Linked DNA regions of Homo sapiens: all the other regions are linked to region 6. The links are contacts of gene promoters, found by promoter capture Hi-C in blood cells and fetal thymus (Javierre and others, 2016). All regions are on one chromosome and are shown on one strand. The core of a region is centred on a gene start or on the middle of the fragment in contact, and the rest is flanking DNA. Distances in the headings are between cores, read along the strand shown. Region 1 holds the start of HK2 (hexokinase 2). Region 2 has its middle 390 kb from the start of LRRTM4-AS1. Region 3 overlaps HK2 (hexokinase 2). Region 4 holds the start of M1AP (meiosis 1 associated protein). Region 5 has its middle 34 kb from the start of SEMA4F. Region 6 holds the start of MRPL19 (mitochondrial ribosomal protein L19). Region 7 has its middle 53 kb from the start of SEMA4F.

Region 1 (3,587 bases), core at 997-3,496, 810 kb after region 6:
CGTTCCACTCTGGGGGAAGAGAGATGACCCCCATTCCAAGATTGAGAGTGGTATAACTCCAACGGGGTTCCAACCCTGGTGCCCTCCTCTGGATTGAGGAAGAGTAAATTTATGCAAGGATTCAAATGTCCTGGGGTAATACCCAAAGGAGAACTCCCTGAGATTAATGACGCTCCACTGTGTATTTTAGGACTTGCCAAGAGATGATAGCCTTCCCCAAGAGTTCTTAGAAGTTGAGAAGTTACCAAGATCCTGCCAGCTCAAATCAAAGGCACGTTTTTAAGTAAACTGAATCAAGGTGCAGAGCCACATCCCAGGAATTAGAGAATAACAGCCATTTACAAACAGTAAAACCCAAGTAAATCAACCGCCTCTGCTCGCTCCTCCAGACTTGAGGCTGGGTAACTTCTGCTTTTCTTGGAGGTTCACGCGCCATCACTACATTAATATGCCTCCTATGCCCTCGGGACCGCCAGAATGGGAATATGAGCAGGTTGTCGCACAGAACGGTAATGGCAAGACATTTTCCCAAAAATGTGTTCCCATCAGATATTGAAATTCCAAGTATGTAACTGAGCAACGCTCCGTTGCCTCACAGCTCTTAAAACAACCTCCCTCCAGCTAATCCCCTCCCAACTTGTCCCCTACCTCAAATCGTAGCCCAGGCCCGGGCCAGGAGCCAATCCCCTAATCCCGGGCATTTCAGAAACTCAATTCTGAGCGCGCCCCTGGCCCTGCCCGTCCCCGGCCCCGGCCCCATCCCCACCCCCATACCCCGAGGCGGGGAATGAGAGCTTCCCGGCTTGGCCTGAGGCTCTTTCTTATGTAAATGACCCGGCCGCGGTGAGCGCTCAGCCATAGGGAGCTGCGGAGCCAGGTGGGAACAGACAGGTCGAGGCTTAAGGAAAAAAAAGCTCGTTTTCGGAAGGACATAAATCTCAAGAATCTCAAGTAATCCAGGAACGCGGCGCGTTGGCCTCTCCGAGTAACTTTTAGGGCAAACCAGAAAGTAACAACCAAAGTCCTCCCCTTACTCAGAGGCAGATCCTGAGGACACGAGGCTGGGCGGTCCCGAGGCTGATTTGGAGGGGCGGGGGTTAATGGGGGACGCCCCTCGCCGAGCCTCAGTTCCGGGCGCCACAGTTCCGGGGAGGGGGCGCGGCGGGCGGAGTTCCTCTGCCCCTTTCCTACTCCTTCCCGGGTCAGCTTCTCCTCGAGCCCACCCCCGCAGGGCCGCGGGGAAGGAGAAGGGAACCGCTCGTCTCCTACACGCGGTCCGCGAGCGCGGACGGCCCCCGGCGGCCCCACGCGGCAGCGGAGCAGCCTCCCGCAGCCACGATTCTCTCCACGTGCTCTCGCCGGAACTCGCGCTGCAGAAGGGGGCTCCCTCCCACGTGGGCGCAGCAATCCCTGACTACCTGCGGGGTGACCCGCCCCTCCAGTAACAGGGAAAAAGGGACTGGGGGAGAGAGCGTGAGCGCGTGCCGGAGCTCAGGGAGGGAGGGCGCCCGGCGGAGCGCGACCTCGGCTCCCCGCCCGCGCGCACTCGCCGGCTGTGCTTAGCGGACGTGGCTCCTGGCGCCCAGGAGTGTCCCGGCTGCCCAAACTTTTTCCGCTCCCAGGCCCGGAGTAGGGAGGAAGCGGGTCCCCGCAGGGTCGAGGAAGAGACTGATGGAGGCCAGACCACTTTGCCAGAGCCCAGCCTGCCGCCCCGCCCGCGCTGACTTACCTTCTGCACTTGGTCATGGTTGAGCTCCGTGAAGAAGTAGGCAAGCAGATGCGAGGCAATCATCCTGCCGCGGCCCGACGGCGCAGAGTTGGGAAACCGAGGCGGAGACGCGAGAGGGGAGGCGGGCGGCGCGGTCCGACTGCTTTGTGCTGGGGCTCGGCTGCCGGGCCGGGAGCTGGGAGTCCGGACGGCGCACAAAGAAGGCTACCGGCGAGGGTGCGCCCGGCTGGCGGAGGGCGCGGGTCTCCGGAGACGTGATTTTGGCGTCACAACTGCTAGAAGGCGCCTCAGTTCTCTCCTGGCGACGTGTCCGGTTGTCCCACGTCAAGGCGCTAACTTCGGCCACAGGATCACTGAGGCTCAACTTGAGAAGAATCTCAGCCCGGCTCCACTCGGGCAGTGGGACCTCTCCGATTCACAGGCGCGTGGCTCGGGCCCGCGGATTTTCTTAGCTGGGTGACACGATGTTGCCAGCGGCAGCCCGGGACTCCTGCGCCGGAGTTTCATGCAACAATGTGGCTTATTGAGGGGCTGCCGGCCCGCGGGCCTCCGGATCAGTGACGTGCGCACGCCCATTGGCTGCGCGGGGAGGGTGTGTGCGCCCACGGACCGCCCGCCGCCGTGGCGCAGCCAATCATCGCTCACGGCTCGCGGGCGCGGCCGCTCAGACACCGGAGCCGGCAGCCTGGGGAGGCGCGCCGGGGGCGGGGGGCGGGGGAGGGGCGGGGCGCCTGAGATGGGACGTGTGGTCCGTGGCTAAAGGCTGGGACGGAAAGGCGCATGAGCCACCGCCGCGTCAGGCTCGGCTATGGGTGGGGGGAGCGTGATCGCGGACCCGGGGTGTGGGGCGACTGGAAAAACGGGCCTCTGGACCAGCACACGCCCTGTGCGGAGAGACACTGTCTGGCATCTCGGGATCATGTGAGGGGCTCCCACTGCCCAGTCACACGTCTAAAGCATCCTAGTTCTTACCTATTGTAGCACGGCCGGAAAGTGAGCCGCCTTAGCTGCTGATTGTACTAGAGCAGGCAATACAAGAGTCGGCCCATCCTCAAAACCACTGATAGGATGTGAGTTTCACTAACCCCGTTTTACAGATGAGGAAATTGAGGCAAGGCCAGGGCTCACACCTGTAATCCCAGCACTTTGGGAGTCCAAGGTTGGAGGGTTGCTTGAGACCAGGAGTTCATGACCAGCCTGGGCGACATAGTGAGACCCCCATCTTCCCAAATAAAAATAAATAAATCAGCCGGACATGGTGGCATGTGCCTGTAGTCCCTGCTGCTCAGAAGGCTAAGGTGGAAGGATAGCTTGAGCCCAGGAGTTCGAGGCTGCAGTGAGCTATGATCATACCACTGTACTCCAGCCTAGGTGACAGAGGGAGACCCTGTCTCAAAAAGAAAAGAGACTTACACGAGGTCACATAGCTAATAAGTGGCAGATAGGGAAGAGAACCCTTGTCCCTCTACTTTAAGGCCCTATTCGCTTGCCCCATTATCCCATGCTGCCTCTCTAAGAGCCAGAGAAGTAGGAGGTAGAAAAAGAGCATCTCTGCAGCTCTGGGACTGATGATGTGAATGAACTGGGTAGATGGTAAGTGTGTAACTGGGTGATCTTGGACATGGGATGGGGTGGGTGAGGAGGCTTACCAATGCTGAGAGGAGTGGAAGCTCCAACCCCAGCTAATGCTAGACACCAGACTCCAAATTTAAACACACAGTGGAAACTGGCAAGAATGAAATACTGACTTCAATACAGATTTCAAGAGACATGACATTAGCACTGGTGGAGAATGGCAAGCCTAAGGTTGGAAAAGGTTCAGGGAAGGAAGATGAAGGTCTGCCATGTTCTACTGAGG
Region 2 (3,720 bases), core at 737-3,236, 950 kb before region 6:
AAAGGAAAGGAGCATGCTGCTTCTTTTTCTCCATCTTGCTTCCTCGTATTTGGTTGTGTTCTTAAGACATCTTCAATGAGGGCAGAGCAAAAATAAATTCTGGTTCCCCAAGGCTTTGAAGCTTCCATTTAAGCCTCCAAATGGTCATGGTTAAACTTTTACAGTAGAAGGTATGCTAGTTATCAATTTATTGCCCCTTAGCTTCAAGTTGTCTTTTCTATGATGAAGAATTTGGACCCTGTAAATATTCCTTCTTTGACAGCCAGGACAATGTAAACTATCAGTAGATGGCGCTAGAGGGACACTTGAAGAGGACAACTTACTTTCTGGTTTTGATGTGTTGCTCTGGCCAGGCTCCTGCACTGCACTGTGTCTAGCAGCAACTAGCGGCCAAGAGCTTCCTAAGCACCTCAAATTGTGTACTTTTAGTAAGTCAGGTATGATCCTAAGATTCCTACCACTGAGAAGGGTTCCCTGATTTCAATGGAGTTGATGAAATCCAGGAGTAGCAGAGGCCAGGCTTAACCACAAAATACAAGAGGGGTATGTCTACTGGAAAGGGAAGCAGGCACATAGCAGTAATCAGAGTGCTTTGGCCTGGAGAGTTATTTGGCAGTTGCTAGTTGATCATGGTGTCTTTACTAATGAAGTAGTTGGACAGCCCTCTGGGGTATTTCTTGAACAATAGAACAGGAAAATAAAAACTCTAGATTTGGTGGCAAAAAAAAAAAAAAAAACTGACCTGAATAATCACAATATTGAATCCCAGCTTCTAATTCAGCTGTCTGATATGGTTTGGCTCTGTGTCCCGATGCAAATTTCATCTTGTAGTTCCCATAAGTCCCATGTTTTGCCTCCATTTTACGTATTTGTTTACTACTCAAACAGAGAAAAGCTTCATAAAAGCAGCAACTTTGTTTTATAAACCACTGAATTCCTAGCATCTACATTAAAGTTTCTACACATCAGCACTAGTGACATTTGGGGATGGATAATTTTTTGATGTGAGAGGATGTCTTGTTATTGTAGGATGTTCTGTACTATCCCCGGCCTCTACACACTAGGTATCAGTAGGCAAAAACTTATCCAGATATTTGCAAATGTCCTATGAAGGCAAAGGTGCCCTGGTTGAGAGCTGCTGATCTAGATTGAACAGAGGTAGCTCTTAATAATGAATGAATTAATTAATTAAAAATATGTACTTACATGCAGAAACAAGATTAGGATAATATATATGGATCTGTTAGTTGTGGGCCACTAATTGTGCATGTGTGCTTTTTGAATTTTGTAAATTTACCTCAGGATTGTTTTACAACTTTCACAGAAAAAATAAAGCCAATTAAATCTTGGAAAAATCAGCTTTGGGCTTCCGTTCTCAGTTCCTCCAGTCTATGTTTAACTCCTCTCTGCCATTAAGGATACTTGGGCTGAAAATTTTGTTTTTGAACTGAAGTAGACAATATGACCTTCTTCCTTTGCTTTCAAAAAGTTCTTCTCATCCCATATGATAGTTTTTCTCAGTTACTCTTATTCCCCAGGAGAAGGTTACAGAAAACTCTATCTGAAAAGTATATGACCACTGTTTCTACTGTTAATGGTTATTAAAAGCCAAAGGTAACTTGGCAAAAATAATTTAACAAGCCAACCTAGTCATTAATATTCACAGAACTAGAGTCCTTTGGCCTTCTTAATGTGAAATCTCAATCATGCAAAATGCAGAATACAGCAATGAGGTGATTAATCTGAACATTATCAGAAGCTAAAATAGATAATGGATAAAATTGAAAGTGGTATCAGTCATTCTTCACTTTCCTTTAGAAATATGAATTAGTCATGAAGGCCATAAAGTGAGTGCCTTGGTCAGAGGCAATGCTGTGTGGAATACCATGATGGTGAATAAGGCATTCCGTGAGTTCATGGATGGTAGTCTTGGCAGAAGCATTGCATGCAGGACAGGCAAACCCATATCCAGAGTAAGTGTCTATTCCAGTGAGGACAAACCTCTGCCCTTTCCTTGATGGAAGAGGTCCAATATAATCAACCTTCCACCAGGTAGCTGGCTGATCGCCCTGAGGAATGGTGCCATATCGAAGGCTCATTGTTGGTCTCTGCTGCTGGCAAATTGGGCACTCAGCAGTACCTGTAGCCAGGTCAGCCTTAGTGAGTGGAAGTCATGTTGCTAGGCCCAGATATAACCTGAATCCCTGCCATGATGGCCACTTTGTTCATAGGCTCATTGGGTGATGACAGGGGTGGCTGGGGAAAGAGGCTGAGTGGTGTCCACAGAATGGGTCATTCTATCCACTTGATTATTAAAATCCTCCTGCCACTGACACCACAAGCACTATTGCATCTGCTGGGTCATATGGCCCAAGTTGCAGAGCAGCTTGAACAGCAGCCTGGACCTGTTGCAGAGCCTTCTCCTGTTCTGGATCACATTCGAAACTGGCAGCCTTTTGGGTCACTAGATAAACGGGCCGGAGTAACACACCCAAATGAGGAATGTGTTGCCTCCAAAATCCAAACAGGGCCACTGGGTGCTGTGCCTCTTTCTTGGTTGTAGGAGGGAGCAAATGCAGCAACTTATCCTTCACCTTAGAAGGACTATCTCGACAAGCCCCACACCACTGGACCCCTAGACATTTTACTAAGGTAGAAGGTCCCTGAATTTTAGTCTGATTAATTTCCTATACTCTGGCACACAAATATCTCACCAATAAGTCCAGTGTGTCTGCTACTTCTTGCTCACTGGATCCAATCAGCATAATGTCATCAATGTAACCAACCAGTGTGATATCTGGTGGAAGCAAAAAGCGATCAAGTTCTCTCCAAATAAGATTATGACACAAAGCCAGAGAGTTGATATACCACTGAGGTAGGAAAGCAAAGATATATTGCTGGCCTTGCCAACTGAAGGCAAATTGCTTCTGTGGGCCTTATGGACAGCAATGGAGAAAAAGCCATTTGCCAAGTGAATGGCTAGATACCAGGTATCAGGAGATGTGTCAATTTGCTCATGCAATGAAACCACATCTGGTACAGCAGCTGCAATAGGAATCACTACATGGTTAAGCTTATGATAATCCACTGTCATTCCCCAAGATCCATCTGTCTTCTGCACAGGCTAAATGGGAGAGTTGAATGAGGATGTGGTGGGAATCACCACCCCTGCATCCTTCAAGTCGTTGATGGTGGCACTAATCTCGCAGTCCCTCCAGGGATTCTACATTGTTTTATTTTATTATATATGTATAAAATATATATTTTTTTAAATAGATTTACTATTTACTATGGCTTCCATTTAGCCTTTCCCACCATAATGATCCTTACCCTACCAGTCAGGGAGCCAGTGTGGGGGTCTTTCAGCTGCTCAGTATGTCCATGCTAATTATGCATTCTGGCACTGGGGAAATGACAGGATGAGTCTGGGGACCCACAGGACCCACTGTAAGTTGGACCTGAGCTAAAACTCCATTAATGACCTGACTTCCATAATCCTCTGCTTTAACTGGAGGACCACAATGACGTTTTGGGTCCCCTGGAATCAACATCAGCTCAGAGCCAGTGTCCAGTAGTCCGTGAAATGTCTGATCATTTCCCTTTCCTCAATGCGCAGTTACCCTGGTAAAAGGCCAGAGATGAAATTGCTAAATCATGATAGTTCTATTTTTAATTTTTTGAGGAATGTCCATGCTGTTTACCATAATGGCTGTACCAATT
Region 3 (3,485 bases), core at 524-3,023, 800 kb after region 6:
GTGCAGCTTCAGCCTGACACTAGACAAGGCCCCTTTCTTTTCAGTGAAGTGTCAGACAAATCTCTAGCCATCTCCAGTGACCCTAGTTCAAGGGTAACTCTGACCACCCTGGAGGCTTCCCACTCCAGATCCAATGAGACACTGACTGGCCCAGGAATGCTACATTACAACTTTCACATCTCAGGGCTAATGTGCAAAGTCTGGGGCTACCCAGACCAGAAGCCAATGCGAGGCCACATCCAGGAAAAGCCTGAGATGTCCTCATGGGCAACTGTAATAATGGCAAGCCCTCACGTGGCTCCTGCTTTGTGCCAGATCCTATTCTCCGGGTTTGCTCCCATTAGTTCATTTCATCCTTAGAACAGCCCTCTGAGGTAGGAAGTGCCAGCATCTCTATTCTACAGAGAGGGGAAGTCACACAGACACGAGGGGCCACGTTTGGCTTGATAGAGAAGTTTGGCTGGTCTGTGCTCTTGTCCACTCTGCTAGATGACTGCCCCCTGCCTGCCTGGATACAGCAGGGTCTATACAGGTCAAACAGCATTGCAGGGAATGCAGGCTGTCCATATCCATTAAAAGGCCATCTTCTATTCCAGTCACCTCCCAATGCAGACATGAACAGCACGCAGTGGAGAGTGAGGCACACAGAGGTGACTGAGCAGGTCTGGGGCAGCAGACATGTCTCTGAACATTGTCATGAGGGTGACACCTGACAAAGACACTCTCACCTCACTACTTTCCCAAAGAGAAGAGAGGCCCAGAAGCTTCTTGGTGCCCCCGCCCCACCTCCACCCTCTATGGAAGGCTTCAGGTGTTTGCAAAGGGCACAGGAGTTCCTGCACTGAGGAGCTGAGCCTGTTCCACCTCATTAAATGGTCCTATCATCATGTCCAGAAGCATGAGGTTATGCACACAAAAAAGCAAATTCTACGACAGCCAATCTTAGTTTATCTTCGATGTTTAAACTGTTTCAAGACATGTTGGAAATCCAGTCAGACACTTCTCATCCTCAACCCTTGAAGAATCGAGTTAAACAGTCACCCTTTATCCACGTTGCCTTTTGCCCCATAGATAACCATCTTCCACATGTTCAATGACAGATGAAAACAGTAATGGGGTGATGGTTACAGCGGCTAAGCATTCCTCAAGCATTTCTCACCTGTCAGGCACTTCCGGCTTTCCTGACCTGTTCTCCATTGTCTTCGTAAAACTTCTGCACCTCCGTTTTATAGATCACTTGGGTAATGAGGGGCAGAGATGGGATTCCACAGAGGTCTGTCTGGCCCCACTGCCAGGCCGTCAGGACAGCCACCCTCGCCTGTCCTGTGGGCCCCTCTTAGTGTGGATGGGCACTCCCAGCCTGCCCTGTGGTTTCTTGGATGACCCTGGGACCTTATTTTCCTCTCCATCACATGAGGAGACTAAGAGAGAAGATATGAAACAGCTGTGGATATGAAACAGTGAAAAATGTCCAGGCCAGTAGCTTGGCCCAAACTTCCCCTCTTTCACATCAGAGCTCTTTGAACTCTCAAAACTTGAGAACAGATGGCACCAGGGCATGATGATGTGTCCACTCAGCTTATTAGGGCCACTCAGGAAGGGATAATTAATAATCACTTAATGCCACAGTTTCCTAAACACACCAGTGGAGCCCACCCAGCCCTGGTAGGCACTGCTGTGTTGGTAGCCAAGGGAAGCAGAAGTCAGAAACAAGAAGCAGCCACCATACAAAGATGATTTTCCTGGATTGAGAAGGAGATGAATGCAATTTTCAGAATCTTGCCAACTTTCACCCACAGTGCCATCAGTGGGAGGGAGCACCAGGCCCAAAGTCAAAGGAGAAAGCCAAGCAGGTGATAGCAGATGTACACACAGCAGTGGGACTGCAGCTGAAAAGTATTCATCCATAGAAAGGAAAGGCCCTTAGGGTAACTAGTTCGAAAATCCCACTAAACATAGTATTCGAATTTATCTAGTTTGTCTCTCTCCACCCAATTGATAGTCATGTGGCCTAGGTTTGAATACTTCCAAGCCTGAGAGGCTCGCTATTTCTCTAAATTCCATTTTTGAACAGCTCTACTTGTTTCAAAGAGTTTCCTCAATCAAAGATAAATCTGCTTTCTGATACTTCTGCCTAATCTCCATTCTGTCACTTGTGATAAGAGTTTCCAAACTTGCTGCACATCAGAATCACATGAGGAGCTTTTAAAGAAAACAGTAAGAATTCCAAGGATCCATTCCAGACTAACCAAATGACACCTCTAAGGCTGGGGCTCAAACACCTTCCCCTCTCCTCTGGGAGGTTTCCAATATGCCAATAACGTGATCGTGGTTGGCCCTGTTCTGATCAACACTGCATATCACTTTTCTGCCTGGAATCTTTGAGAGTCGGTGGTTAAGATATTAGGCCAGGTGTGACCCTGTGAAGTAATCCTGTGTTGATCCAGCCTGCTGGGAGTTGGGAAGACAAACTCTGCATTTGTTTTTAAGAGATGTAAGTTTCTGGATACTATCAAAGCAGACTCATTCAGGTCAACCCTTGATTTGTAGCTGGTGGTGGTGAAAGGAGTGCTCTGGCATCAGAAACACCAGTATGCAAATCCTAGTGGTAGCGTTCGTACAGGTGTGCGACATTAGAGGACTCTTCATCTGAACCCCAGCTTCCTTGCCACAAAACAGGATGAATAGCCCCACATGACAGAGTCATTAGCATAACTGTGGGGACAAAAGAGTTCTCTATCACCCCCCCTTTCCTTCCACCCCTTCTTTCTTCTAAAGCTTCTCTCCACCCAGGGTCACCTTCAGGCAATCACAGACATTTCTCAACCCTCCTTAGTCACAAAGCAGAGGCTGTTTCCCCAAACTATTCCTTCTCTTTCTGTGATGGGCATGGACAAGGCTGCTTCTCTTTAAATCTCTATCTGGGAGAGGAGGAAAGGAGGAGGGGGCATTCCAGGCTGGGGAATCGGAGGCAGGCCAGAGCAAAGCCTGGCTGAAGAACGGGTTACCTTCCCGTCTGCCTGCCAAGCTGCCAGCCCAGGAAGCGAGGGCGTGTTAGACAGAGATAGCACTGTTAGTTGATATTTCTTCAGCAAGGGTTAGATCAGAGCTTCCTCATTGGGTAATTTTGGTCAGTTTCAGTTTTTCCCATAACATACCAGTCTGACATGCCCACTTCCTCTACAGAATTGGGGTTGGTGTCAGGGGAAGCCCTAAAGACAAATTAACCCCATACTCTCTAGGAAATAAGATAATACCCAAAATGGGAAGCCATTAACACCCATCCCCTTAAGTACCTGCATTTTCCTCCAGACCAGCACTTAAAAAAGGAGAGGAAATTGTGTCACTGTCACAAAGCAACAAATGGAGAGAACAAAAGGGGACATTCATGGAGGCTCCACTTCGAAGTATGCAGTGTGCAGGGTGGGCCATACACAGTCCTGGCCAGGTATGGGGAAGCCCAGGAAGGAAAGGCCTGGAGGTGA
Region 4 (3,699 bases), core at 66-2,565, 1.0 Mb after region 6:
TGGGATGACACAGAAAAAATGCCCTCACTAGATGTGGGATTCTCAACCTTGGAATTCCTACCCTCCAGAATTTAAGAATACATTTCCTTTATTTACAAGTTAGTTGTTCTGTGGTATTCTGGTATAGCAACACAAAGGGGAGTAAGACAGGTAATGCTGGGGTTGAGCCTAGTAAGGTAGGTGGGGTCAGTTATAATGGACCCTCTAACCGAAAAGGAAACATAAGCCATTTTTAAGACAAAGAATGATATGATCAAAATATTTTTACAAGGACAATTCTAACATCAGTGGAAACGATAATCTGGAGATTAGAGACAGAAAGGCTAATTTGGACTATATGGGGGGAAAGAGCTGTTGAGAAGCTACCCTTTAAACTGAAACACAGGAACTCTATTGAATATCAGATTATAGTGTTTAAAAAAGGACATAGGTTAAATAGTTCTGTTCTTACCTGAGGAACAGTTGATAGGAGCAAAATGGTTTAGTGGGACTAGAATACAAGCAGGCAACTCTTTTCCTGTTGAAACATCTAACCTATCCTGTGCCACTCATTGAAATATTGCCCCACCCCACCTCCAACCTGCATCTAGACAATGAACTGAGAAAATAACAATAATAATAATAAAGAAAACAAGGAAAACTGCTTGTACATTTCTAGCTTGGAACTAGCATTATCTTTCCCTCTCCTGTGGACTAATTCAGAGAATTCCTTTTTAACCAGAGTTGAAGACCCAGACCAACCAACTGTTAAGGACCAGGACGCTCCTACCCCATCTGGAGTTCGTCAAAGGGACTATGGGAATCAACCTCAAGTAAGCGAGAATGAGTATGAAGAGAGCGACAGACCCTCTTGGAATACAGGAGTTTGAAAAGACTTAAAAGAACTTTGTGAAGGCAGCTATAACTTCCATGAGGGCAGTGACCATTGTCTGTACATCCACTGTACTCCAATCCTAGCACAATGCGTGGCACATAACGTGCCCACCACAGATGTTTAGTGAACAAAATAGCGACTGGCTGAAGGAAATGATGTGGAAGGGAAAAGTTAAAACCAAGAAAACGGTCGGTGGGGGAGCTACTGGCATGTTTCATGGGAAGGGGTAGAAAAAGAAAAATGTCAGGTTTAGCACAGCATTTCCAACAAATAGACAAAATTCTACCTAAGGGACAAAGAAGGACTGTTCTCAGGGTATCTAGGGACTTGGAGACCGTTTTCCTGAAGCGCCACCTGAAGCGCACCCTGAGGCAGCCAGGCCCCGCCTTGCCCGCAGTGAGCCTCCCGCCCAGCCGCGCCGGCCTGAGGGGGGCGCCTCCGAACGCGCGGGCGCACGCTGAGAGCCGGGAGGACCAGGTGAGGGGGCCTCCGTCTTCCGAAGACAGGTACGGTTCTCCACGCCTCGGGGAGGGAGGGCAGCCCGAGAGCAGCCGGCACCACTTCGCAGGCTGGGCTGGGCGTGGGCCGAGCTCGGGCCAGTCCTCAGGCAGGTGTTGGTTGCGCTGGCCGTGGCGGGTGCCGGCGCAAGACTGACGCCGAGAGAGGCTCCGAAATCGCTGTCGGAGTCATCCCTCCGCATACTGTTCTGGGCGGCCAGGCCTGCGCGGAGTCTGGGCCCGGAGCTTCCTCCGCGGGGCCCCCAGGCCCGAGGGCCGGGCTGCTGATCCGCCAGGCACGGTAGGCGCCATGCCGAGGGACCACGGAGGCTTCAGGGAGCCACGAGAATTTTTTTTCTTCTGGTTTTGCTTTGTTTTTGAGACGGAGTTTCACCCTTGTTGCCCAAGCTGGAGTGCAATGGCGTGATCTCGGCTCACTGCAACCTCCGCCTCCCGGGTTCAAGTGATTCTCCGCCTCAGCTTCTCGAGTAAGCTGGAATTACAGGCTCCCGCCACCACGCCTGGCTAATTTTTTTATATTTTTAGTAGAGACATGGTTTCCCTATGTTGGCCAGGCTGCTCTCGAACTCCTGACCTCGTGATCCGCCCGCCTCGGCCTCCTAAAGTGCTGCGATTACAGGCGTGAGCCACCGTGCCCGGCCACGAGAATGTTTTCATTTCGTTTAAAGTGAACCCATGAAGTCAAAGAAAGTGTTTTGATTTTTTTCTCACATCAGGAGGGGGAAATGAGATTTTTAGGGCCTACAAAATCCATTAACTTCTTTTAATCTTTTTTTAATGGAGGAAGGGGTCCACGAAGACGAAAGTGCCTTAGGGCCCACGAAATCTTTAATAGGGCCCTGCCAGAGGGAGAACCATTGAATCGTTTATCACGCGACAAAGTGAATGAGGGCTTGTAAAGGGGCCCTAACCTAGAATGCTCAGCACGGAACAGAACATCCGCAGAGGCAGACACAGCGAGAAGCCGATCTGTGAGAGGTGGATCTCCCGGGGTGCGGGCAGGGGAGGGCCTAGTGTGAGGATGGAGAGTTGGGCAGAAGGCACAAGCAGAACTTTAGGGCCAGGGTAAAGATATTGGATTCTGTTTCCAGTGGTGTAATTGGAAGTCCTTGGAGGGTTTTTAGTTTGGGCATAACTTGGTGGTTTGGAGTGGTTCAAGGCCCAGTTCCAGTTTTAACCAGTTTGCAGGGAGAATTCATTAAGCGAGTGTTCTTGGCAAAAGTGGAGAGTATAGGGTCAGAATAAGGTCAGAGCCTGTTTAGTACTATGCCCAGACACATCAGATGCATGAATTGATGATGTTTGAGGATGTAAGGAAGAGAGCTGCCTCTTACCTCATTTAAAATACAGTCTTCCAATTGCACATTAGTGTGGGATTGAAAAATGACTGCAAGCTGAAACCATTCAAAGAGATCTTAAACACCAATGGGAAAAATTACAGTTGTTCTATAACCTTGAAAAATTGTCAAAACACTAAAACTTTCTTACTAACTGTATAGGGAAATGTAAAACAGTAAAACTATTTCATACACTAACTTAAAACATTAGAAACATTGAGAGCTAAAGTGTTTTATTTGTTGAAAAAAAACTCTCATAGTAAAACTTATGAGAGAGCAAACATTTTTTGTGTGTCTTGGCAAACTGACATACTTCTTTCTAAGTTTGGGTTAGTTTCCTACATTTTATCCTTTGTACCTTCAATTTTGTAAAATATCTCTGAAAGTTTCTTTAATAATGAAGCTTTTTGCCAGTGGCCCTTTCTGTAGGATGTCTTCATCCTTTTCATCACAATGACTTTCCTCAAGTATGTTGATAAGTTTGCCTTCACTAAATTCCTCTGGCTGCTTCTCTAGAGTCTATCAGGTGGAGGCAGTGTCAACACTCTCATAGTCAGCTGTTTCTCCTTTAACTCCACTTATGTTAGATTCAGATTTCACTCCTGGCATTATCATTTTTTATTTCTTTGCTGCTCCTTTTATCGGCTAGTTTCCTCTTTCAGTTTTTGTTTTTATAAAACATCACATGGGCTTATCACTAGGAGACAAGGAGGCGACACAACTACACACTTCTGTCTGTGCTTTAACTGACTAATGGATCTGCAGTGACGGGTCACCAACAGACTTTGAAAGAAGTGATATAATTAATTACTGATCATGATGCACTGATCACTATATTATATCAGTACGCTATATCAGTATACTATACTATTGATACTGATAACTAGTAATTCGTGAACTAAAGAGCTAGATACTACTTTATGTAATTACAGTTAATATTCCATGGTAACTGAAATTTGAACTGTGTTGT
Region 5 (3,726 bases), core at 1,068-3,567, 960 kb after region 6:
TAATAACTCTCATCCGGAAGGAGGGAAGACTGCTGCAAGGCTAAAGCCAGTGAAGAACTGGTAAAGAAGCACCAGTCATTCCTATTAGCCAGGACAGGAGGCTGCTCGGTCATTTTGTGGTCTGGACAATGTACCTGTTTTGCCTGTGTTGAGACATGATTATAGAGTGATCTCATTTTTTTCTTCATCATTGGCACTGAGTGTCCTTGTCTGATGTTGGTGTTCTATGAAATCCTTTATGTTCAATAGGAAAACACTGAGGCCTGGCTATGAGTGCCAGGCCAGCTCCTGTCTGTCAGGAAACACTTTTCTCTTTCTTATTGTTTCCTCCTTTTTTGCTTAACAATGTGGACATTTTTTCAGGTCAATACTGAAGCTTATTTAACCAAATTTCACTTGTTGAATAATTGATTTTTTTCCCAACATTTTAGGCTTATAATTATTATAAAAATAAAAATCTTTAGAAGTATGTCTTTGCACACTTATACTGCTATTTCCTTAAAATAAATTTCTAAAAGTGTAATTACTGGATCAAATGATATATACACTTTAAAGTTTTCAATAGATATTACCAGAATGCCCTCCATAGAGTGTGTACTAATTTCATTTCCAACAATAGTATAGAATGCCCACTCTCCACAAATCCTTGTTTGGGGAGCACACAAGGTCACCAACCTTTTTTTCTTGTTTTTTCTGGTTCCATAGACAGAAAAACATCTTATTTTAAAGTGTTTTATTATGTAAAATTTGATATACACAAAAGACAAAATGAGGCATGTATATGTCTCACTAGACTACACTACATTAGACTGTCTCAGTAGCTTCAGGGGAGTCTGGTTAGGTGGTACAAATGCTTTGATTGGCATCCCAAACCTGTTTCTCAAGCTGCTAGTTAAGAAGAGAGGTCAGTAGAATGAGGTATCTTTGGGTTCCTCAGATTTGGAACACACCTTAACAATAGCGCCTTTCAAAGTGTGTTGCTGTCTGCTTACTCATCTGCCTATCCTTGAATTATGAGCTTTAAGGGGACAGGGACTATGTCTTATTCACTTTTGTGTCTCCAGAATCTAGCCCAGAACCTGACCTAAATAGACCTAAATTAATATTTAATGAACACCCCCCAATCTATTTTTTTAAATCAATTGATACATAAGTAGTTGGGGGTGATAAATTAGCTATAGATTTTCTATGTAAGAAACATACTTATACATAAAATTCAATTTGTCCAACTACTCCGTTGGAATAATTCCTACAGATTGGAACTGCCAGGGCAAAGTACATACAAGATCTAAATTTTGAGTAAATTTCCCAAAACTGGAGTAAATTTTCCCAGTGTTTAAGAGTTCCCTATTTCCTAAAATTCTATACAAATGTTAGATTTCTGTATTTGTGATCATTGATAATGTAATATTACAAAGAAACTGCTTTTTCATCTATTAATGTTAAGCTACATCATCTTCATATCACCTTATTAATCATGTGTATTATTTCATTTTCCTGTTTCTTTTATTTTCATTTCCCTTGTAATGTTAGCCTGTTACTGATTTCTAAAAGCTCATTTATGATTAAGAATGTTAACATTTTTTCAAGTATTGCAAATGAAATACCATGTTTTTCTCATTTATTTTAATGTGGTGTTTTAATTTTTGGTTGTACAGAAGTTACGTATTGAAATATGATCATGTTCTGTTTTATATATATGAAATGAACAATGAGTGAAGGAGGAAACACCACTCCACTCTAGGAAGGCAAGACCCAGTTCTCGGAAGTTGATCTGTAATGGGCACTATTTGGGTACTTTGTACACTGCAGGGGTTCTGAGCACAAGCTTTGGAATCCGAGAGACCTGGGTTTTAGTCACAACTCAGCTACAAACTAACTGTATGACCTGAGCAAGTTATTTCTCCTTCGAGCCTCAGTTTCACTGGCCGACAATGTGGCTAACACCACCAGTCTTTCTGAGATTGAGTTTGATGTAAAAAATGTTTAGCTCAATGCCCACATCATATCTAGTAGATGATTATATTTTAGGGCATTATTATTATTATTAAGGGCAACTATGATTAGGGAATTTATGCTTGCAAAGTGGTGTTGTGCCTTCCAGGGATACTTTGATTCTTTCACTCTGAAAGAAAGAGCAGAGAGGACCTACCTGTGGACAACCAGACACAAATTAGGGCCCAAAGCAAAGAAGGGTCCAGGATGGAGTTCGGAACACAGACAGGGAGAGGTCATTTGAGGTCTAGGAGAAGGACACCCTAAAGCTATCCCTTGAAAACCATGAGTCTATGAGCAGAGGATCCCAGGGGCTGCCACTTGGTACTGCAGAACCACAGGAGCTGGGAGCTAAGTGGCCTCCTACAGGAGTACTGACCAGTGGATGGTGTTGGCCTCTCAGCAGGACCTGCGTTCTTTCCATTACCCAGTGGGTCAGCTCGGCAATGGCCATATTCATTCACTCAATAAATATTGAGCATCTACTATGTGTCAGGCACTGTTCACTGTTCTAAGCACTGGGGATACAACAGTGAACAAAAAAGCCATAGTTCAGGCTTTCATGGAGTTTGCAATCTAACAAGAAGGAAAATAATTAAACTAAGCAAACAAGAAAATACAAATTGATGATATGCTATGCTGAGAATTAAAATAGGAGGATGTGATAGGAAGTAACTGGGAGCTACTTTATACAGAGTAATCAGGGTGGGCCTCTTTATGGAGGCAATGTTTAAGATAAAGCCTGACTGACCAGAAGGACTTGCAAAGATCAGGGGAAACAACTAGTTCTCCCTAGTTGGGAACAAGCTTGGTGTATCTAGAAAGCTGAATGAAGGTTGGTGTGGCTGTTGCTCCTGAGTGAGGGGAAAGTAAAAATAGTTTAGATAGATGGACAGAGGTCCTAACATGTGAGGCTCTGTAAATCAGAACAGAGGATTTGGATTTCATTCTAATTGTAACGGGAAGTGATAGGAAGGTTTTCATTTGGAAGGAACAACATTATCTTTAGTTTTCTTTTCTTCTTTTTTTTTTAAATTATACTTTAAGTTCTAGGGTGCATGTTGGTTTGCTGCACCCATCAACTCATCATTTTTACATTAGGTATTTCTCCTAATGTTATTCCACCCTCAGCCCCCCACCCTCCAACAGGCCCCAGTGTGTGATGTTCCCCGCCCTGTGTCCATGTGTTGTCATTGTTCAACTCCCATTTATGAGTGAGAACATGCAGTGTTTGGTTTTCTGTCCTTGTGATAGTTTGCTCAGAATGATGGTTTCCAGCTTCATCCAGATCTCTGCAAAGGACATGAATTCATTCTTTTTACGGCTGCATAGTATTCCATGGTGTATATGTGCCACATTTTCTTAATCCAGTCTATCACTGATGGACATTTGGGTTGGTTCCAAGTCTTTGCTATTGTGAATAGTGCCACAATAAACATACGTGTGCACGTGTCTTTATAGTAGCATGATTTATAATCCTTTGGGTATATACCCAGTAATGGGATGGCTGGGTCAAATGGTACTTCTAATTCTAGATCCTTGAGGAATCCCCACACTGTCCTCCACAATGGTGGAACTAATTTACACTACCACTAACACTGTAAAAGTGTTCCTATTTCTTGGCCGGGCATGGTGGCTCACGCCTGTAATCCCAGCACTTTGGGAGGCCGAGGCGGGCAGATCACGAGGTCAGGAGATTGAGACCATCCTGACTAACACGGTGAAACCCCG
Region 6 (3,856 bases), core at 221-2,720:
AAATTGTTCTCTAGAGCATATAATTTACATTCCTATTTAAGTGAATTCTATTAAATGCCACTGTTTAAAAGAGATATTCCATTTCTACCCTCAAAAGCAAAGTTTTATGAAGAAATATTTTCTGAATCTCTTAGTTCTCTAACTCCAAGTTTACTTCTATTTAAATCCGTGGAATATTTTAAATGTTAAAAAAAGAAAAGAAAAAAAAAAGCCAGGCGTGGTACCAGTAGTTCCAGCTACTCTGGAGCCTGAGGCGGGAGGATCACTTGAGCCCAGAAATTTGAGGCTGCAGTGAGCTAAAATCACCACTGCACTCCAGCCTGGGAGACTGAGAGAGACTCTGTCTAAAAAAAATTTAAAAAATAAAAAAATTAAAAATCCCAGAAGTAATCCAATCAATAATCTACAGCCCTTTCAAAAAGCCTATAATCATATCAGGTTTTTCCTCTGAAAACTGGCTTTTTAAAAAGGTTGCTACATAGCTCTCTTTTCAGACCTTAAGTCCTTTAAATTTACATGTACCTCCAAGATTACCACCATTCATATAAGTTTTTATTCACACTATTTTGATGAGTAAGTTTCAGACACAATTTAGTGGCCAGTTTTACTGTGCTTTGTCTGCCAAAACTTCCAACCTAAACCATAGCAAATTTTTTAAGTTGGCCAATCGATTCCTATCCAGGGTTAAGGGTCTTTTGAGAGAAAAGAAGAGCTCTTGGACGTAAACAGGTATAAACAGGATATACCTCAGAGAAAAACTCTGGTACAGGACAAATACCACAGAGAAAAGAGTTTAAAATATGGGGAACCCCTACTTGAAGTTCTGACTCAATAAAACTGCAAAGAAGTTCAATGCTGGCTTGGGGAGAAGTGAGAAAGAAAGAACAGTGTGGTGCGCTGGCTCTTGAATCCTACACACCTGCTCGTGCAGGGGGAGGTGCAGCCCCCACCTTAGAGCCGGGACCTCGAACGCGAACGCGCTCACGCGCGCACCGACCCCAGTTGCCGGCCTAGCGCCAGGGCAGTGCCTCACCTGCGTTCCGGTTCCACGGGGCGGTGCTTGTCCACGATGACCGGTTTCGGCGGCGGTTGGAACGCACCGGGCTCGGAAGGCCCAGTGCTCTGCTGCCGGACAGGCCCCGCGTGGACCCCTGCGGGAGCGGACGACGGAGGTCAGAACTCTCGTGCCAACCCTGAGATCCCGCAGAGCCCCGCAATCTCCCCCAACCCGGCGTCCCACGGGGGACCAACGCTGGGGTTGCCTCTGATCTCCAGGTTCGCCTCCCCCATCCTGACCCTGGGCCCCTAACGCGCCCCAGCTCGCAAGTCCGGCTCCACTTACTGCAGGCGATAGAGGCCGGCGGGGGGAGCAGAGTCCTGGCGGCTTGGAAACTCCGGCCTAGGCCCATTGCAGCCCAGTGCCCCGCTGCAATGCAGGCCGCCATGCCAGCTAGCTCACGTCAAGACTACAGCTCCCAGTAATCAGTGCGACGAGGTTGTTGCTGTCTGCCACCATATGGCGGCTGCTATGGGACAAAATGGATAAGTCTCTCCTCGCTCCTTTCCTGATGTCTTAGGAAAAGTGCACGTTTCTCTAGTTCCTCGTAATGCGCCAAGTTACACCCCTCCACAGGGGTGTTCTCCCAGCCTAGAAAGCTTTTTCCTCCCCCTATGAATCCACTCTATCTTCTCAGACAAGCTTTCGCTATGCGAAAATCCCATTGTAGGCCGTCTTTCCCACTGGGTGCCTTCGATTGGCAGCTCTGATCTCATTTGCAATTCTTTCTTGTGTAATTATTAGATTAGTATTTAAATCTGCCATTATACTATAATGAGGCAAGGGAAGGGATAAAGTCTTCTTTTTGCTCACCATGTTATCCCAGCACCTAGCACCTACCTGGGCCCTCACTAACATCTTTTGTTTTGTTGAGACAAGGTCTTCCTCTGTTACCCAGGCTGGAGTGCAGTGGCGCGATCATGGCTCTGCAGCCTCCAACTCCTGATGTCAGGAGATCCTCTCACCTCAGCCTCCCGAGTAGCCAAGACTACAGTCTCGCACCATCACGCCCAGCTAATTTTTCTAATTCTTTGCTGAATGCACAGAAAAGAGAATAGAATAGTTCCTGACAGAACTGCTGGCCCATAGTCCTTGAGACTACACAAAGCATTAACCCTTTGAGGAACCCAAATGAATTTGGGCTGGGCAACTGTGGGTATGGATAGGTGGGAGAAGTAAAGCTGGAAAAGGTAAATTGTAAGTCTTGTTAAGAAATTTGGAAAATGACTGGGCGTGGCCAGGCATGCCTGTAATCCCAGCACTGTGGGAGGCCGAGACAGGAGGGTCCCTTGAGCTCATGAGTTGGAAACCAGCCTGGGCAATATAGTGAGACCGTATCTCTAAGAAACAAACACACAGCCGGGCGCAGTGGCTCACGCCTTTAACCCCAGCATTTTGGGAGGCCGAGGCGGGCAGATCGCCTGAGGTCAGGAGTTTGAGACTAGCCTGGCCAACATAGTGAAACCCCGTTTCTACCAAAAATAAAAAAAATGATCCAGGTGTGGTGGCAGGCTCCTGTAATCCCAGCTACTTGGGAGGCTAAGGCAGGAGAATCGCTTGAACCTGGGAGACAGAGGTTGCAGTGAGCCGAGATCGCGCCATTGCAACAAGAGCGAAACTCCGTCTCAAAAAAACAGAAAAAGAAACACACACAAAAAAAGAAATTTGGAATTTGTTATTTCAGCAGTGGTTATATAAGGATTGAACACTTAGAGTAATGTGATAATTTAACTACATAATAGTCATTCCAGTTGCATTAATGTCCCAAAGCTACCTCAAATTCAGCCTATCCATACTGAGTTCATCTTTTTCAGCTCCAGACTTCCTTCCCAGTATTGGCTATCTCAAGGAATGGCTTCAGCATCCACTCTCTTGCCTAAGCCAAAAATCTCAGTGCCATTCTTGATTCCTCCCTGTCTCCTCCTGGATGAAGTTCCAAAAACTATGCCTGACACCGTCAAATATCTCAGGAATCCATATACTTTCTCATCCTCCCATCCATATTTCCAATCTAGGTCAACATATTTTCTCTCTTCAGGATCCCTGGAGATCCCTGCAACAGCCTTCTCATTAGTCTTCTTGCCTCTGGTTACCTCCAGTCCTTCACGCAGCAACCAAAAAAAGATGGCTCAGAAATGCATACCCTGTTCTTTCCTTTCCCCAGTTTAAAGCCTTACTGTTTACTTTTGACAGAAGTCAAATGCTCATAAAAGCAACCAACCTCTGCAGCTTGGCCTCTATACTCTGACTTGCCATCCTGAAGAACATGAGCTGTTACATCAGCCTGAGGAACAGGGCCATGTTTTGAGCACAGAATTCAAGATGCTGTGAAGAAAGACAGGGCCTTCTATTTTAACTCTAGCTTCTTTGATTAGAACAAGAATTTATTCTATAAATGACAAGGAATCTCACAACCAAAATTTCAGATGAGCAATATTTTGGCTCTTCTACCTACCCGAAAAAGTAGACTTCAAGCCCTTAAGAGTAAAAGGGAGGAGAGGCAAAGATAATCATGACTGGCAGTGGTGAAGATTTTTCTGTATTAACCATGCCCAGAACACGTGGCCTTCACTCTTGCTGGGATTGGTCCTAAAGGTAGGGGCAGAGAAATAAAAGACAGACCTTCACAGGAGGACAGCAGGATTTACTAGACATTGCCAAGCCACTCCTGCTGCCCTCTCCTCTTCCACAGATGAAGGAATAGTTGTGTAGAGTTTTACAAAATTGGAAGAATGAACCTAAAGAATCTTATCTAATTTTCTCCCGTATTCTTGCTCATCCAACATATATCAGGCCGTT
Region 7 (3,522 bases), core at 234-2,733, 940 kb after region 6:
TGTCTTAGTTTTACAGAAGTTTGATTATGATGTGCTTTGTCATGGATTTCTTTTCAGTTTATTCTGTTTGAGGTTCATTAGCTTCTTGAATTATGCAATCACAGCTCACCGCAACCTCTGCCATCTGGACTCAAGCCAACCTCCCACCTCATCCTCCTGAGTTAGCTGGGACTATAGGCACGCACCACCACACCAGCTCTTTTTGTGTTTTTTGTAGAGACAGGAATTTGTCATGTTTCCCAGGCTGGTCTCAAACTCCTGGGCTCAAGCGATCCTCTTACCTCAGCACCCCAAAGTGCTGGTATTAATGGGGTGAACCACCGCACCCAGCCTATTTGGCTCCTCTTTATGTCTTGTGTTTTCCTGCTGAGACATTCTATTTTTAAATTTGTTTTAAGCATGTTTATAACTACTCATTGAAGCATTTTTATAATGGTTTCTTTAAAATTTTTGTCAACATCTGTGTCATCTCAACATTGGCATTTGTTGTCTTTTCTCATTCAAGTTGAGATTTTCCTGGTTCTTGACATGATGAGTGATTTTCTATTAATTCCTGGGCTTTGGGGGAATTATATAAGACATTATATCTTATTTAAATTTTCTGTTTTAGCAGGCCCTGTCTGACACTGTGCCAGTCAGGAAAGGGGACTGCTGCTTCATAATTGCCAGGTGGTTGTGTAAGTCCACAGTCCTCACTTGGCCTCTGTGGACACTCCACTGGGGTAGAGTGTCTCATTACAGCTGGTGAGGGTGAGAGTTCCAGGTCCCCACATGGCCTTCACTGACATAATCACTGAGGAGAAGGTCATTACAGGGCACATCACCCCAGCAAGGAAGGGTTGGGGTGCCTCATCACAGCTGAGTGAGGGGAAAAGCCTAGGCTCCTTTTTAATATGGGTCATATTTTTCTACTTCTTCTCATACCTGGTAATTTTTGCTTAGATACTAGACATTGTAAATGTACTTTGCTGGGTGTTAAATATTTTTGGATTCCTATATATATTTTTGAACTTTGCTCTGGGATAAGTTAAACTACTTGGAAACAGTTGGATCCTCAGGTTTTGATTTTATGATTTTTTTTTTCAAGGGTGCTGAGAAGTGCTCAGTCTAGGGTTATTTATTGCCCACTTCTGAGGCAAGGACCTTCTGTACAAACTACTGAGTGCCCCAGGAATCATGGGACTTTCCAATCTGGCAGGTGGGAACTGGCACTGTTCTCAGCCCTGAGTGAGCACTGAGCAGCGCTGCTTCTAATCCTCGCAGATGGTTTCCTCACACACATGTGCTGATTGGTACTTAGTTGAACCGATCTTGAGGAGACCCCTGAGGATCTCCTGGGCTCTCTCTGTGCACCTCTCTCCTCTCCATCATCTATCCTGCAAACTCTAGTTGCTTTGGTCTCCCCATACTCTTATCTCTGTTTCCTCAACTCAGAGCATTTTCCAGGCTCCATCTGGGTTCCACCTTCCTGAACTGTGCCCTAGGAACTTCTTCAGGGCTGTAAGCTGGAGCAATTGTAAAACTCTCCTCAACTCCCAGGAATCACTGTCATTTGTCACCTGATGTCCATGTCTTGAAAACCATTCCTTCATATATCTTTATTGTGTTTGTTGTTGTTGTTGTTATTGTTTCAGGCAAGAGGGCAAATCTGAACCTATTACTCCACTTTGGCCAGAAGCAGAAGTCTTCAAGAGAAATTGTTAACCTTTTTAAAAAAAAAAAAAACTTTCATAAAAGCTGCAAGAATACAATGAACATTTACATACCTTTAACCTAGATTTACCAGTCGTTAATATTTTGCCTCATTTGTTTTATTTCTCTCTAGATAGTTGGATAGATGGATAGATAGATAAATAGATAATCTGCACACATGCACACATTATTATTGGTTTTGCCTAGCCATTTAAGAATAGGTTGCTGACATCATGCTCCTTAACCCCAAATACTTCAGCATCTGTCTTTTAAGAACAAGGATCTTTTTATATAACTACAGTATAATTAACAAATTTGGAAAATTTAGCATTGATAACAAACTATTATACAATATATAGCCTACATTCAAATTTTGCCAATGTACTTTATAGTAATTTTTTCCAACCCAGAATCCAATCTAGGATCATGAAATGCATTTGTCAGATACATATTTTTAAAATATATTTTAAAATATAACCCATATGACTTCCTAGTTAGTTAAATGCAGGTAGCAGAAGGGTGAGATCCAGCCTTGTTCTGCTTCCAGGTAGCAGAGGAGAGGGAGTGGCCTACCAGGGATCCTGCTTGGTCACTGCCTCTGAAGCCTACTACCTAATCCCTGCAGTTAGGGTGTCTCCTCTCCTCATTTGGCTCTTTGATGAGTGTGAAGTGAAAATGCTCACTCACTGAGAAGTGCTCAATGGAGTATAAAAACTAATAGAAATGAGATGAAGAGATTTCAAACAAATAGGCAAACTCAGAAGTGAAAATCAATGACACAAAAGTGGTAATGCTATAAAATAAATAAATGCAAAGAGATTAACCGTGAAATATGAATCAACAAACCTCGTGCAGACAACCTTGTCCAGTACTGCCTGTGTCAGAAACTTCCCCACGTCTACTCCAGACAACCCATCTGTCCCTACTCTTCCTCCTTGCCACTGCACCCACATTCTTTGGCCTTCGGGAAAAGCTCTAGCCTCAATTGCTGATTCCTGAAATCTGACATCAAGTTCACATCAGATCTCACTCCCTGATTATGCAGCCAGATCTCCCCTCTATGCATCTCCATGACCCTATGTTTGTCTCACTCATGAGCCACTGATCTGGGTCTGCCTGGACCTGAAGTCTTTGGGTTTGTGGGTTCTGAGCCCCTCTAATACTGCAAGCTCCTGTGGTGTCATGGAAAAATTTTAAACCTGTATGAATATCGATAAGTTCTTTGGCGTCAGATCTGGTTTCAAATCCCACTGAATGTACAATCTTAGGCTAGTTTCTAATCTTCTATGAGCCTCAGTTCCCTTATCTGTAAACTGGAAACATAATATCCCATGCAATTATGGTAAAAATTAAATGAATTAAATTATACAAAGGATTCAGCTCATTGCCTAAAATGTTAAAAAAAATTCAATAAATGTTGTTTCTCCTTCTCTTATTCATTTTTTGAATTCCCAAAGCCTAAAATGTGTTACTAGTAATTTAATGCAAATTAAAATGGCTTGTAATTACATGACTAATTCACATTAACCATAAAGGAATCAGAAAATATACAAAAAAAAAGAAAAGAAAATAGAGAATAACTTGTAACCTCCAAACACCAAGATACTAGTGTATAAATTGATACATATCTTTTGAAACTTTAAAAATGTGCAAATATGGCCAGGCCCAGTGGCTCACACCTATAATCCCAGTGCTTTTGAGAGGCTGAGGCAGGAGGATTGCCTGAGACCAGCAGTTCAAGACCAGCCTGGACAATAATAGCAAGATCCCATCTCTACAAAAAAAATTAAAAATTAGCTAGGCATGGTGGCACACATCTGTAGTCCTAGC

What was found. Contacts are between HindIII fragments. The CHiCAGO score rates a contact against its expected background, and 5 or more counts as called.
Region 1: the fragment with the promoter of HK2 here is called in contact with the fragment with the promoter of MRPL19 in region 6 in 2 of 17 cell types (naive CD8 T cells and activated CD4 T cells); the score reaches 7.6 in naive CD8 T cells.
Region 2: a contact is called between a fragment that was not itself captured here and the fragment with the promoter of MRPL19 in region 6, in 3 of 17 cell types (M1 macrophages, M0 macrophages and megakaryocytes). The highest score is 5.2, in M1 macrophages.
Region 3: a contact is called between a fragment that was not itself captured here and the fragment with the promoter of MRPL19 in region 6, in 8 of 17 cell types (non-activated CD4 T cells, naive CD8 T cells, total B cells and 5 more). The highest score is 15.0, in non-activated CD4 T cells.
Region 4: the fragment with the promoter of M1AP here is called in contact with the fragment with the promoter of MRPL19 in region 6 in 2 of 17 cell types (activated CD4 T cells and naive CD4 T cells); the score reaches 6.4 in activated CD4 T cells.
Region 5: a contact is called between a fragment that was not itself captured here and the fragment with the promoter of MRPL19 in region 6, in 1 of 17 cell types (M0 macrophages). The highest score is 5.9, in M0 macrophages.
Region 7: a contact is called between a fragment that was not itself captured here and the fragment with the promoter of MRPL19 in region 6, in 2 of 17 cell types (M1 macrophages and naive CD4 T cells). The highest score is 5.5, in M1 macrophages.

Annotation. Positions count from the first base shown.
Region 1 is chr2:74,832,786-74,836,372 of GRCh38, reverse strand. HK2 (hexokinase 2) reads right to left here and starts at 2,246. Exons shown (of 18, transcript NM_000189.5): 1 at 1,730-2,246. The coding sequence starts at 1,792. HK2-DT (HK2 divergent transcript) reads left to right here and starts at 2,386. Exons shown (of 1, transcript NR_185897.1): 1 at 2,386-3,587. RefSeq lists enhancers at 805-874, 652-1,528 and silencers at 1,105-1,354, 2,275-2,504, 2,685-2,754. The HindIII fragment of the contact is 22,379 bases long and covers 1-3,587 here.
Region 2 is chr2:76,596,532-76,600,251 of GRCh38, reverse strand. No RefSeq gene overlaps it. Among named protein-coding and RNA genes, the nearest start is that of LRRTM4-AS1, 390 kb to the left of the region's middle. The HindIII fragment of the contact is 2,178 bases long and covers 898-3,075 here.
Region 3 is chr2:74,848,973-74,852,457 of GRCh38, reverse strand. The region is part of intron 1 of HK2 (hexokinase 2); the gene reads right to left. Among named protein-coding and RNA genes, the nearest start is that of HK2, 17 kb to the right of the region's middle. RefSeq lists an enhancer at 2,363-2,502. The HindIII fragment of the contact is 2,014 bases long and covers 767-2,780 here.
Region 4 is chr2:74,645,946-74,649,644 of GRCh38, reverse strand. M1AP (meiosis 1 associated protein) reads left to right here and starts at 1,315. Exons shown (of 11, transcript NM_001321739.2): 1 at 1,315-1,380. The HindIII fragment of the contact is 10,572 bases long and covers 1-3,134 here.
Region 5 is chr2:74,686,289-74,690,014 of GRCh38, reverse strand. It overlaps a transcript of SEMA4F not described here. Among named protein-coding and RNA genes, the nearest start is that of SEMA4F, 34 kb to the right of the region's middle. The HindIII fragment of the contact is 974 bases long and covers 1,831-2,804 here.
Region 6 is chr2:75,644,397-75,648,252 of GRCh38, reverse strand. MRPL19 (mitochondrial ribosomal protein L19) reads right to left here and starts at 1,470. Exons shown (of 6, transcript NM_014763.4): 1 at 1,343-1,470; 2 at 1,034-1,151. The coding sequence starts at 1,445. RefSeq lists enhancers at 1,241-1,540, 1,376-1,670. The HindIII fragment of the contact is 2,636 bases long and covers 1-1,658 here.
Region 7 is chr2:74,705,694-74,709,215 of GRCh38, reverse strand. It overlaps a transcript of SEMA4F not described here. Among named protein-coding and RNA genes, the nearest start is that of SEMA4F, 53 kb to the right of the region's middle. The HindIII fragment of the contact is 4,799 bases long and covers 1-3,522 here.